Linked DNA regions of Homo sapiens: all the other regions are linked to region 1. The links are contacts of gene promoters, found by promoter capture Hi-C in blood cells and fetal thymus (Javierre and others, 2016). All regions are on one chromosome and are shown on one strand. The core of a region is centred on a gene start or on the middle of the fragment in contact, and the rest is flanking DNA. Distances in the headings are between cores, read along the strand shown. Region 1 holds the start of TCEA1 (transcription elongation factor A1). Region 2 overlaps RB1CC1 (RB1 inducible coiled-coil 1). Region 3 overlaps RB1CC1 (RB1 inducible coiled-coil 1). Region 4 overlaps RB1CC1 (RB1 inducible coiled-coil 1).

Region 1 (2,839 bases), core at 269-2,768:
GTAATCCCAGCACTTTGGGAGGCTGAGGTGGGCGGATCACCTGAGGTCAGGAGTTCGAGACCAGCCTGGTTAAGATGGTGAAACCCCGTTTCTACTAAAAATACAAAAAAATAGCCAGGCGTGGTGGCGCACGTCTGTAATCCCAGCTACTCGGGAGGCTGAGGCAGGAGAATCACTTGAACCCGAGAGGCGGAGGTTGCAGTGAGCCGAGATCAAGCCATTGCACTCCAGCTTGTGCAACAAGAGTTAAACTCCGTCTCGAAAAAATATGTTTAGCTAAGAACAGATGAGTCTGAAGCAAGGGACTGAAAGTGCCACACAAATGGGCAAGCTGTAGAAACTGGTCGTATGAGGATTTCTTACAAACCACAAAAGCATATGCTTACATGAATATTCATCAATAACAAAAAAAATGCCACCAGTATTAACTGTAAACCACTTAGAAAATACCCAACAATATAATTTGTCCAAATCCCTCTACCAGCATTCCGGTGAGTGTGCGTGCTGTAGTCCTAACTCTTCTGTACATTACGACAGGACAAAACCCGCTTTTTATAAAACGTTTAGCAACTCGCCAAGAAACTGGCACACTTTACCTTTTTAATCGCTAAGCAAACATGTAGCACAGTTGAGATAACCAGGCGGACGTTCAGCCCTCTTCAAAAATAAGACACAGAAGTTTTACATTTTACCAGCCCGATGTCTAATACCGATCACAAGCCTCTATTTGATGCTCTTTCTAGATGTTGGCCACGGATCACGGAAGACTCCATTCTTTCAAGTTCTGAGGACTTTCTACGCTTCAATTCCTAAGCTAAATTGCCAAGGTTTTACTAGCACGAAAGTTTAAAGTCAACGGAGAGCGTGCCCTAATCCCTAAATCGATTAGGTTTATTACACGGCACCAGCGAGCAGGGACTGGAAATACAAGAGCGAGCGGGTCCTAACGCAGGTTGCCGCGGGACCCGACGCCCCGGGCCCGGACACCCTCCCCGGGGACGCGGGCGCGGCGGGCCCGGCTCCCAGACGGGAGGCTGCAGGGGGAGGGGAGGGAGAAGGAGGGAGGGGGCGGCCCCCTCGGGCCGGACCGCGGCCCGGCCTCCCTCCCGGCCCGCGCCGCTCGCCGCGCTCACCGCGTTCTTCTTCTGCACCATCTTGTCCATCTTCTTGGCAAAGCGGACCACTTCGTCCTCCATGGCTCCGGCAGGTCTTCTCCGCGCCCACCCCGCTGGCAAGGGGAAGTGGGCGAAGCTGGAGCGGAAGACACAGCAGGAGCGACCCCCGGCGCGCAGCAACCCCCACCACCGCAGGCCCGGGCCTAGGCCCCCTTCCTTACGAACGAAGCCCGCGGCGGCGGCGGCGGCGGCGGCGGCTCCGGCTCCTCCTCCCCAGGCAGCGACAATCGAACACCGCGCGCGACGTGCAGGCGCTACCAACTGACTGCAGATCGCTGGTGAGGGGCGAGCCCATGTTCCCGCCAGGCGGGCGTCGGGCTAGTGGGCAGGCGTGGCTTCCGGCTAGAGGGTCGTGGAAGGCGCCCGGTTTTGCTGCGCGTTCACCTCCGGTCCCGCCCCCTCACGGGGCGGGTTTTCGGCCCCCTATTGCATCGGGACATCCCGGAGTTTTAGAACTCGCGGAGGCCCAAGTATCTCGAAACGGGGGCAGATTCCGAGCATGGAACTTTGGCAGGTTTTAAAGTCTGTGGGAAGCCAAGCACTTTCTCCATAGGAGACTGCTACGGGGAAAAATGGAACCCGTGTCCTCTAAGTTAGGTTACGGAGTTACTCGTTTTAAGAGTTCCTTTTTTTTTGAGACGGAGCCTCGTTCTGTCGCCTGGCTGGAGTACAGTGGCGCGATCTCCACTCACTGCAAGCTCCCCCCCCCGGGTTCAAGCGATTCTCCTGCTTTAGTTTCCCGAGTAGCTGGGACTACAGGCGCCCGCCACCACGCCCTGCTAATTTTTTGTATTTTTAGTAGAGACAGGGTTTCACCATGTTGGCCAGGATGGTTTTGATCTCTTGACCTAGTGATCCGCCCGCCTCGGCCTCCCAAAGTGCTGCGATTACAGACCTGAGCCACTGCACCCGGCTAAGCGTTCCTTTTTTTAAAAAAAATCGGCCGGGCGCGGTGGCTCATGCCTGTAATCCCAGCACTTTGGGAGGCCGAGGCGGGCGGATCAACTGAGGTGAGGAGTTCGAGACCAGCCTGACCAACATGGAGAAACATCGTCACTACTAAAAATACAAAATTAGCCGGGCGTCATGGCCTGTGATCCCAGCCACTCGGGAGGCTGAGGCAGGAGAATCGTTTGAACCCGGGAGGCGGAAGTTGCGGTGAGCCGAGACTGCCATTGCATTCTAGCCTGGGCGACAAGAGCGAAACTCCGTCTCAAAAAAAATAAAAAATAAATAAAGGTGAAATCGTTCGTGAGCTCCTGGAGTACTAAGAACCAGTCTTGGGCATGGCATTTTGAATAGTTGAAGAACAGTTGACGGAAACCTTCTGGTCAGAAATTACACAAGGCATCCCACCAGCTTCTGAGGATCAGAGAGGAAGGTGACTTAAGTTGTGACAGGGTTCATAGTGGAGAATGCAGGCTCCTCCAAAAAGTCTTTCCCCACTTAAACCCTTCACGACCAACTCATGCTATTTGCAGGTATAACTCCCACACCACGTAACTATCATTCATCAAAATACACCGCCTAATAATGTTCTTTCTATACTGAGATGACAGGTTTTTCCTGGTTATGACTCACTCATTTGGGGGAGAAGTATTGGGATCGTTTCCCTATTTTGTTTCATTTTTAAATTATCTTTTTATTATTGATTTCCAGCTTAA
Region 2 (3,162 bases), core at 322-2,821, 1.3 Mb before region 1:
AACCCTAAAGTGGACTAAAAGCTTCAGAGAAAAGATGATTGGAAATAATTTTGCCTGATCTCTAATTCTGTAAACTGCAATTATTAGCAATTCTCCCTCATTGAGGGGTCACGGGCTACTGCATCAATGGAGATAATGTCCACCACAAACGGAGTGTCTAGGTTGCCCAGGGACTGAAAACTGGGCATCAGTCTCCCCAAATCAGATGTATTCTAATCTGATCCTACCCCTTCTCTGCCAAGAAAAAGAATGAAAGATGAGTAGGTCAGGCATTTTCCTCACATTTCCCTGAAAGAAAACCTTTTTCATAAAAGTTCAGACTTCCTAAATATACGCCTTGTCTACAAACTAGACAAGCAACTTCGCCAAAAGAATGAAGCGAGCATTTAGAAAGGTAGTGCCCAAAGACAGCAAATGAGGTAAAAATAGCAGAACAGGAATACTTTTAAAACAAAAATGAAAAATACTTTGGAGTACACCCTTCAGGTTTTTTTCCCTAGGTGTACAGGAAATATGTGTATATTCAGGCAATATGGTTTTATAAAAATGAGGTGACACCCTACATACTACTATGGACTTTGCTTGAACTGCATAAAATAACAGAAATCTTTCTGTATCAGTACATATAAATGCATTACACATTTTGGTGTCCCTATCGTTTATAAAAACTACATAAAATGCATGATTTTAGTGAAAATTTTCTAGTTGTGTTTTATTTTATAACGGAAACTAACAGTAAAACCAAAATTATCTATATAGCAAATATAGAATTATATAAGACAGGGAAAATGGGGAAAAAAAAGAAAATGTAGAATTAGCTGCATTCTATTAAACCAAGATTATCTATAAACATATAACCAAATTATTAAACCAGCCTGCCCAAATCTGGTATTTGCAGTAAAACAATTACTAAAAGCCGTTATATTACTGTAATATAATATGGTATTGAATTAATATTTCAACAGGTATGCTGGACAGTTACTGAACAAGTATAATGTGTGGAATGTGAAGGAAAAATGAGTGGACAGTCTCAAATCAGTGACAAAAAAAGGAAATGGAACACAATTATTTTTATCTCCTAGCACAATTACAAGCCAATAAAATATGAGAGTTCAAAAGAGCAAACTAACGGGTAGAAAAAAATCATGGATGAAAAAAAATGGGCGAGGATTGTTATTCCACAATCCTCAAAGCACTCACTAAACAGCCATGAAAGCAGAAACAAATTAGCCAAGGAAAGAGGGTACTTGGAGGCATTCAAGTACTGCACTTACAAAAAGTAATCCAACAGAACCGGAACTTTACAAAGGGATAGAAAGAAATGCCATCCTCTCAGGACCCTAAACAATGGGGGTACAGTTTACAGTCAAATTAAGTTGATTTGGTCCATAATAAATAATCAGAGACAAGTAATCTTCACATCCTTTTATCTATGTGAGTTAAGCAAAAACTCATCAACCTAGCACTATACAATCGGCTTAGCTAGCCTTTTATCTACTCTACATCCTCAAAGTAATCTGCGTTTGTCATTTACCTCCATGAAAATTTCCAGTGGTTACCCATTTCCTATAAATAAATATATATACATAGACAGATATGTCTTTCTTGTTCACTGTTGCATTGCTGAAGCTAAAAGAGTATGCTGCAGGGGTTCAATTAGCATTTCAGGAATAAATGAAGTGAATTTGGCTTCAACTGCTTTCCAGCCATGCTGGGTTTACTTGAATTCATCTGTAGACCTTTGTGAGTTAGAGCACATTAGTTTCCTTACTATGACTTCCAAACCTGAATATGTAGAGCCCCACAATCTACCATTACTATCGCCTCTCTCATACCAGTCCAGCTTCAGTAACTTCATTTTTCTTGGTATATGCCATGTATATCAGAGCCTTTCCATTTACTGTTTCTTCTGCCAAAAATTCCTTTCGAGAGTCACACACTTACACCCCTTACTTCTCTTGGGCCTTTATTCAAAAGGCAATCAGTGGCCGGGCTTTGGGAGTCCGAGGCAGGCAGATCACCTGAGGTCAGGAGTTCAAGACCAGCCTGGCCAACATGGTAAAACCCCGTCTCTACTCAAGAACAATTACTTAAACATTTTTATGTTCCTCATGTAACTAGTTCAAAAACCTCACAGTGGTAAAAAGATAATAAAAGAATCGTGAAAGTGTGTTGAAAGGGACTGCTAGATTTTCAAAGTGTCTTAGGCCAGTATTACTACAAAAGAAAAGTGTAACTGGAGTCAGAAAATATCATTACCTGAATGAGAAAATTTTATCAGCCATTCTTTTAAAAAGATATTCATAAGACATACACATCTGCAAAGTAAAGCATGTAGGTGCTCAAATATCTGCTGAATGTATGATATAAAATTTTAAGTTAATATTAGAGTCTAAAAACTTTTCTCAGGCTAACATAATCAAAATTTAGGTTCAAAATTTCGAAAACAAAAGTCTTGTGTCTTCTGCCTTTATGAACTTGATTTGCTAAAGTAAATCTGCCATGCATCCTGATCTTGTGTTTGGCAGCAAGAGCCAAAAAAAAAAAAAAAAAAAACTCAGGGACAAAAGTACCGCTTCATTGTCTTCCCTGTCGTCCAATAACAAACATATAAAGGATTAGGTACATAAATAATCATATCTTGATTACCATAAAAAGTTCAAAATAGACTAAATAAAATTACTTTAAAAATATGAACTATGTCAATATCCACTTTCCATCAACAGAGGTTTCTCAACGTAAGCATTATGTGCCTAAAGCATCCCTGACATAAAACTTTATCCAGGTTTTGAACACAATCACAAACATTAAAAGACATGACAGGAATGTTATTGAGAAAATATCTTCATTAGGGCCATATTCTGTTACAACAAATATAAAAAGCGAACATATTTTCACATTCCTAGCAATGGTCTGCTTATAAATCCAATAATCCAAAAACTAAAATCAGCCACCTCCCTCAGTAGTTCCTTGGTTTCTCACAGTTTTATCTGATCAGAAGTGGAAGGACCCTCTTTTTATCGTCTATCACAATGTAATAACATTCTTGATTAAACACACAATTAAGTCTACTTAAGTCTCTTCCTAAATTGCTAACTGTCCAAACTTATGTATAAATCATACAAGCTTCACCAAAACACAAAAACTTAAGAAACTACACAA
Region 3 (3,155 bases), core at 116-2,615, 1.4 Mb before region 1:
GAGGCCAAGGTGGGCAGAACACTTGGGGCCAGGAGTTTGAGACCAGCTGGCCAACACGGTGAAACCCCGTCTCTACTAAAATACAAAAACTTAGCTGGATGTGGTGGCAGGCACCTCTAGTCCCAGCTACTTGGGAGGCTGAGGCACAAGAACAGCTTGAACCCAGGAGGCTGAGGTTGCAGTGAGATGAGATTGTGCCACTGCACTCCAGCCTGGACAACAGAGCAAGACTCTTGTCTCCAAAACAACAACAACACAGCTAAGAGTACATCTGATGGGGGTAAAAGCCCCCATATTGCTTTGATCATGGAAACGTTTCTTCTCATGTAATACAATTAATGACCCCAGATAACAATGGTTTAGAAACATATCAAACTAACGTTTAATTCCAGTGAAGTCTAACTGAGGCTTTATTATTCTGATTTGTCAAAATATAAAGGGGGGTGGTGTGAAAAGAAATATAGAAGGGCAAGGAGGAGGTGGAGGCTGTAAAGGAGGAGGGAGGGAGAAGAGCAGTGGAAGAAAGAAGAGGGAAGGGTGGAAAGAAAAAAAGGAAGAGACAAGAAAACAAAAAAACCAAGTGAATCTATTTCTACCAATCCTAACAGTGCAGTATAAGGTATCTTCCTGTGTTATGAAGATTCTTTATAAAAAATTATGAATACAAATATCAATCTTAAAGCTTTATGCTAACTGGCTTTTAAAGCCAAAAACACTTTTATTTTGATTTTTTTTAAACCACAACAATTTCTGCAAGTTTCTGATAAATGTCTCTACTTCTGGAAAAAAGGTTTTAAAACATATGGAATTTAGTCATGGTTAGAAAATAAATACATACACAAAAGGAAGGGGGCCAGGAGTCCAGTCCCCTAAACAGACGATTTCTTAAAAAAGACTTCCCTGTATAAAGAAATTAACAATATGGTTATTTTAGAGCTTTATTTAAGGCAAAAAATTATCTCTGGTTTTTGAAAAGGTAAATTAAAAGTTGACAGTACTTCAAGTTTAAAATTTAACAATGGATTCAATTCTATACACTTTAAAAGGAATATTTCCTAGATATCAATGGCAATTAACAGCATATACATGAAGTATGCTACAGAAAATCCAAGCTTATAAAAACTTTTATCCTTTACAAAAGTAATTAAAATTATTAATGAACACTTACTAAATAATTTCCCAAAGGATTCCCTTTTTGATTTTTCTGCTTCATATAATCTCTTTCCATCTTTGACTAAAGCACCAGCCCACTAGAAGAGGAAAGCTTATGTTAAACATAAACATACACCAATTCGTTAAAGTTCATATACAGTTAAAATAGAATTCAACTTGCATACCTCCCTGTAGTGTTTTATGAACATTTTTCTTCTTACAACCTCAACAACAGCTAAGCAGTACATCTGAGGAACTGTACTAAGAGCTTCAACAATTTTGACTCTTTCTAACAGCTCTATTACGAGGCGGAGCAAAGCTTGTAACTTCTCTCCATCTTGATCAGCATGAAGCATTACAAAGCAACACCACCTAGAGAATAAAATCCATTATTTTCAACATTCACAAAACTGGTACTAACTTAGTTACTTACTTAGTAAGCTTACTAACTTAGTTAAGCCAAAGAAATCAAGATATATAAGCTCTACAAAAATAGTCTAATTCCAAAGTTCATCAATAAGGTATTTCAATAAAATGGTAGGGAAAAATCACTCCATCATTTGGGAGAAATAAATATAAATACCAATTCTAAACATCTTAAAACAGATATAAATGAATCACTTACTTCAGTCTGACATGTAGGTTATTTGCTAGTTCTTGTTTGGCAGTGGTACACTTCTGCTTAATATCTAACAGTTTTCTATGATTTTGCAACATAATCATCAACTGATTTGCGTGACTCAGGCATAAATCAGGTAATACAGATGCATCCTTTAAGTTTTCAGCTCTCTTCTGATTAGCTAAAAATCCCTTTGAGAAAAAAAATGTTTCAAAGGACATTAATTTTGTTTCATGAAAGGTATGGACATTCAGTTAAGTGGAAAATCTTTATGTTAAACACAACCCGTTTTGTGCCTTCTAACAATATTTTTAAATCCTCTATTTTTCTCGAATGTAGTAGATGCATAAATGGCACAAGACCTAGAATTTTTAAGAATCCTATGCTCATCTTTAATTTTTCAAACTAGAAGAAAATAAAGGCTAGAAAGATAAAGCCCCTTAGCCAAGGACATACTTAATAGTCAATGAGAATTAGAAGCTATGTGTCTAGAATCCTATAACACTATCGGTCAGTCACAGCACAAACAAAACAAGGTCACTGAAAAACAATAAGGGATTTAATCTAGCAAACATTATACAGTAGTATATTAGACACTTTCCCAAATATAAAAATAATAAAATGCCCTTAAAATATTTATCGAAAAGTCACTGCCCTCTCCAGTTATCTCTGGACTATATTTTGTTCCACTGATCTGTGCTCCCATTGCTAGGACAATGACTGAATTGTGTGATTTTACACAGAGTTTATACTTTATTATTTGGTAGAAAAACATTTTTTCTGTTTTTCTTAACTGTCCTTACTCATTTGTTTTTGTAGGTGAACGGTGTATCTGTCAAGTAGGGATTAAGTTACTAATTAATTTAGATAGATCTGCCATAATCTTCCTTCATTTATCTCTCAAGTATATTTAGTTTTCTTTATATGTGGTCCAAAGATAACTTAATAAGGTTATTACTACATACTTTATTGCTACCACAAAGTTTTTTCCTATGCTATATACCAAGTGGCTTATATGTAATAATGTTGTAGGTTTTGTACATCCATCTGATTGCTGTATTGATACTGTAAATAAATCATTATCCTTCTAGGAACTTAACTTTATGACCAGCTAAAGGACAAGTGTGTCTTCCAATTTTCTGGTAGTTCTCTGTTTCATGTTTTCCTAAATATCATGACATTTAGATTTGAATGATATATACTGAAGTCAAACTGGTTCAATATCTGAAAGGAAGACAATTTTCATAGTAACTGTATGCCTTTTTTTTCCCTTTCAATATACTCTTTGGTTAACTGCAACTATAATTTTTCTATAATGTAATCTATTAAAAAACAATTTGCTACTTTTAACTCCTTTCGCAAAGTCTGGTTTTCAATTACTTTT
Region 4 (2,750 bases), core at 155-2,654, 1.3 Mb before region 1:
TGAGAAGTCAAAGTTAACTGAAGGCATTTAACTTAAGTATAAAGGTATGAAAAGAATATGAACAAAGATAGGGAAAGAAGTACTTCAAAAGAGTGGAACACGAAGTGGCAAAGACAGGAAATATGAAGCACTATTGGTTAAGAACAAATGGTCTGGAGGAAAAAGCGAGAGAAAGAGGGCCAGATGATCAAAGACCCAGAAGATACTAAGGTAAGGAAGGAGGAATTGGACTTTACTCAGAAAAGACCTCCTCAAGAACTCTTTAACATGAAGAATGTAATCAAATAGAAGCTTTAAGAAGACTGATAATACAGAAAATGTCATAAGGTGGAACGGGAAGGCACCTGAAAGAATGGATGTAAAATGATTATTTTTAAGTTGTCCAGGCAAACTGTAAAAAAGCTACTGTAAGTTATCTAGTTACCAAAGTAAATAAGTAAGATGGTCTTTATGGGGTAGGAATGTCAGTAAAATGATTATGTGCCATGTCAATTAATGTCAATTAATCAATCATGCTGCCACTAAAATAGAGTGGGGAAAAAAACTCTGGAATTATGAAATAACAAATAAAATGTTTTCAGATTTTTTTAAACAGATGAAAGAGAGGTGACACCCTTGAAATGACGAGTAAAAGAGCTGTTGGGTACATTAAAGCAAGAAGTTCTTGCAGCGCATGTAGAAAATGTAGGAGGAAGATTCTTAAACACACAAAAGATGGAGGATATAAAATATTCAAATGTTTCAATTTTATGAATTGTTAAAATTTATAAATGTAAAATAAGTTCAACTGTAGCACTGTTTACTAGGAAAATAAATTTATGATATTTCAAAAATGGGAGTACCTTGCAACAATGAAAAAGGAATAATATATATAGTATGGGCCGGGTGCAGTGGCTCTCACCTGTAATCCTAGTACTTTGGGAGGCTGAGGCGGGCGATCACCTGCGGTCAGGAGTTTGAGGTCAGCCTGGCCAAGATGGTGAAACCCATCTCTACCAAAAATACAAAAATTAGCTGGGTGTGGTGGCACGTACCTGTAATCCCAGCTACTGGGGAAGCTGAGGGAGGAGAATCACTTGAACCCAGGAGGCAGAGGTTACAGTGAGCCAAGATCGCACAACTGAATTCCAGCCTGGGTGGCAAGAGCGAAAACTCCAACTCAAAAACAACAACAAAAAAAGTATAGTATGCTTTCATTTATTTGGGGAGGCTAAGGTCAGTTAGAAATGTGAAACAACAGAGGTATGAGAGAGAAATGCATTTTGTGTGTATATCAAAGTCTAGGAAAATGCAAAACAAATGTTCCACCATCATTAAGATGGAGTGGGGGATGCAACGAAAGAGGAAGTATTTTCTCTATATATTTTGCTGATATATTTGCTGATATATTTGGCTGATAAGGATGCCAAAATTATGACCATTCTGTTTTAGAAGATAATATTGTTAATGAACAAATTTAGGTGAAAAGAAATATCTTTACAGGTAAAATATGAAAGTTTACTTTCTGGAAGTACAATGATATGAATGTAAAGAGCACTGGCCTTGGAGAAAAGAGGTTCTTCTTCTCCCTGGCTATCTGGCCTTGAAGAAATGACTTATCTTCACCTGTTCTTAATTCCATATGTGTATAAGAAAGGGCTAATAGTTTCAGTTGTAAGATAATGAAGTAAAGATGTCTTTGCCTGCTTCTCCTTCATGAAACCAACCAAATACAAAAGGGAAACAAGACACCATCTTGATGAAACCAGGAAACAACTACCACCCCACACATACAATATATGCAGCAAACCTGTGAAGAATATGAAAACTGATCAACTTGGGTCAAATAAAAAGGGCACCCACTGTGAAAGAATAACAAATCTCGGGAACCCAAAATCACTAAGCCAATGGAAAAATCAAGCTGGGAACTATGTCAGGCAAACCTGCCTCCAATTTTATTCCTAAATAAGATAGCTACAAAGATAAGAAAGCTACATACCTCCCTCACAATTTTGCCACAGGGAAATTTCTTGTAGGCTTCAAGATCTTTAACCTAAAACAGTTCTGCTGAATTTCACCTTCACAATGTAAACTGACAGCATATCTTCATATGTGCGGGACAGAAAGTCACACCTCTGCTGACCTGAAACAAAGGCCTATCTGCTTCCTCTGTCTTACTGTTTATTGTTTATGTAAAAATGCAGATGCACTGAGCCAGACTAAATTATGTATTGAGTGAAAGGCTGATCAAGGACTCGAAAGACCCCGCTTCGAGTTATCCTGCCCTTCTGAACCAAACCAATGTACTTCTTACACATAATCATGTCTCATGTCTCCCTAAAATGTATAAAAGCAAACTGTACCCTGACCACCTTGGGCACATGTTACCAGGACCCCCTGAAGCTATGTCTTGGGTGTGTCCTTAACCTTGACAAAATAAATTTTCTAAATTGATTGTGACCTGTCTCACGATAATTTAGGTTCACACCACTATTGCAGACATTTAGCAAAACTTGGGAGAACTGAATCCTCCTTGTGGGAAGCTTGGGTGGACAGCAAGAACCTCTTGGGGCCCTATCTGAAATTAGAGAGTAGCAGAAGAAATAATACCTATTTATGTTACATACTTGCAAAAAGCCAAAGGAAAAAACGTGAGAAAAAGCCCTAGAACTGCTAAATTTTGTCCAAGGAGAAGGACAAAATAAGTCATCTCCATCCCTCTCTTACACATATAGATTCTGCTTCTAACTGGGGATCCCCTGTGATCCAGG

The links. The method cuts DNA at HindIII sites, captures the fragments that hold promoters and counts their contacts. A CHiCAGO score of 5 or more calls a contact.
Region 2: a contact is called between a fragment that was not itself captured here and the fragment with the promoter of TCEA1 in region 1, in 2 of 17 cell types (activated CD4 T cells and naive CD8 T cells). The highest score is 5.9, in activated CD4 T cells.
Region 3: a fragment that was not itself captured here is called in contact with the fragment with the promoter of TCEA1 in region 1 in 4 of 17 cell types (activated CD4 T cells, non-activated CD4 T cells, fetal thymus and 1 more); the score reaches 7.7 in activated CD4 T cells.
Region 4: a fragment that was not itself captured here is called in contact with the fragment with the promoter of TCEA1 in region 1 in 1 of 17 cell types (naive CD8 T cells); the score reaches 5.8 in naive CD8 T cells.

What each region holds. Positions count from the first base shown.
Region 1 is chr8:54,020,930-54,023,768 of GRCh38, forward strand. It overlaps TCEA1 (transcription elongation factor A1), which reads right to left and starts at 1,519. Exons shown (of 10, transcript NM_006756.4): 1 at 1,134-1,519. The coding sequence starts at 1,196. All of the region lies in intron 12 of LYPLA1-TCEA1 (LYPLA1-TCEA1 readthrough), which reads right to left. It overlaps LOC133039971 (Uncharacterized LOC133039971), which reads left to right and starts at 1,104. Exons shown (of 3, transcript NR_189620.1): 1 at 1,104-1,453. RefSeq lists silencers at 968-1,137, 2,265-2,572 and enhancers at 1,258-2,051, 1,308-1,457, 2,052-2,839. The HindIII fragment of the contact is 35,827 bases long and covers 1-2,839 here.
Region 2 is chr8:52,709,961-52,713,122 of GRCh38, forward strand. All of the region lies in intron 1 of RB1CC1 (RB1 inducible coiled-coil 1), which reads right to left. Among named protein-coding and RNA genes, the nearest start is that of RB1CC1, 2.9 kb to the right of the region's middle. The HindIII fragment of the contact is 3,105 bases long and covers 20-3,124 here.
Region 3 is chr8:52,659,758-52,662,912 of GRCh38, forward strand. It overlaps RB1CC1 (RB1 inducible coiled-coil 1), which reads right to left. Exons shown (of 24, transcript NM_014781.5): 9 at 1,778-1,962; 10 at 1,338-1,524; 11 at 1,169-1,250; 12 at 839-900. Among named protein-coding and RNA genes, the nearest start is that of RB1CC1, 53 kb to the right of the region's middle. The HindIII fragment of the contact is 207 bases long and covers 1,263-1,469 here.
Region 4 is chr8:52,677,258-52,680,007 of GRCh38, forward strand. All of the region lies in intron 5 of RB1CC1 (RB1 inducible coiled-coil 1), which reads right to left. Among named protein-coding and RNA genes, the nearest start is that of RB1CC1, 36 kb to the right of the region's middle. The HindIII fragment of the contact is 2,231 bases long and covers 290-2,520 here.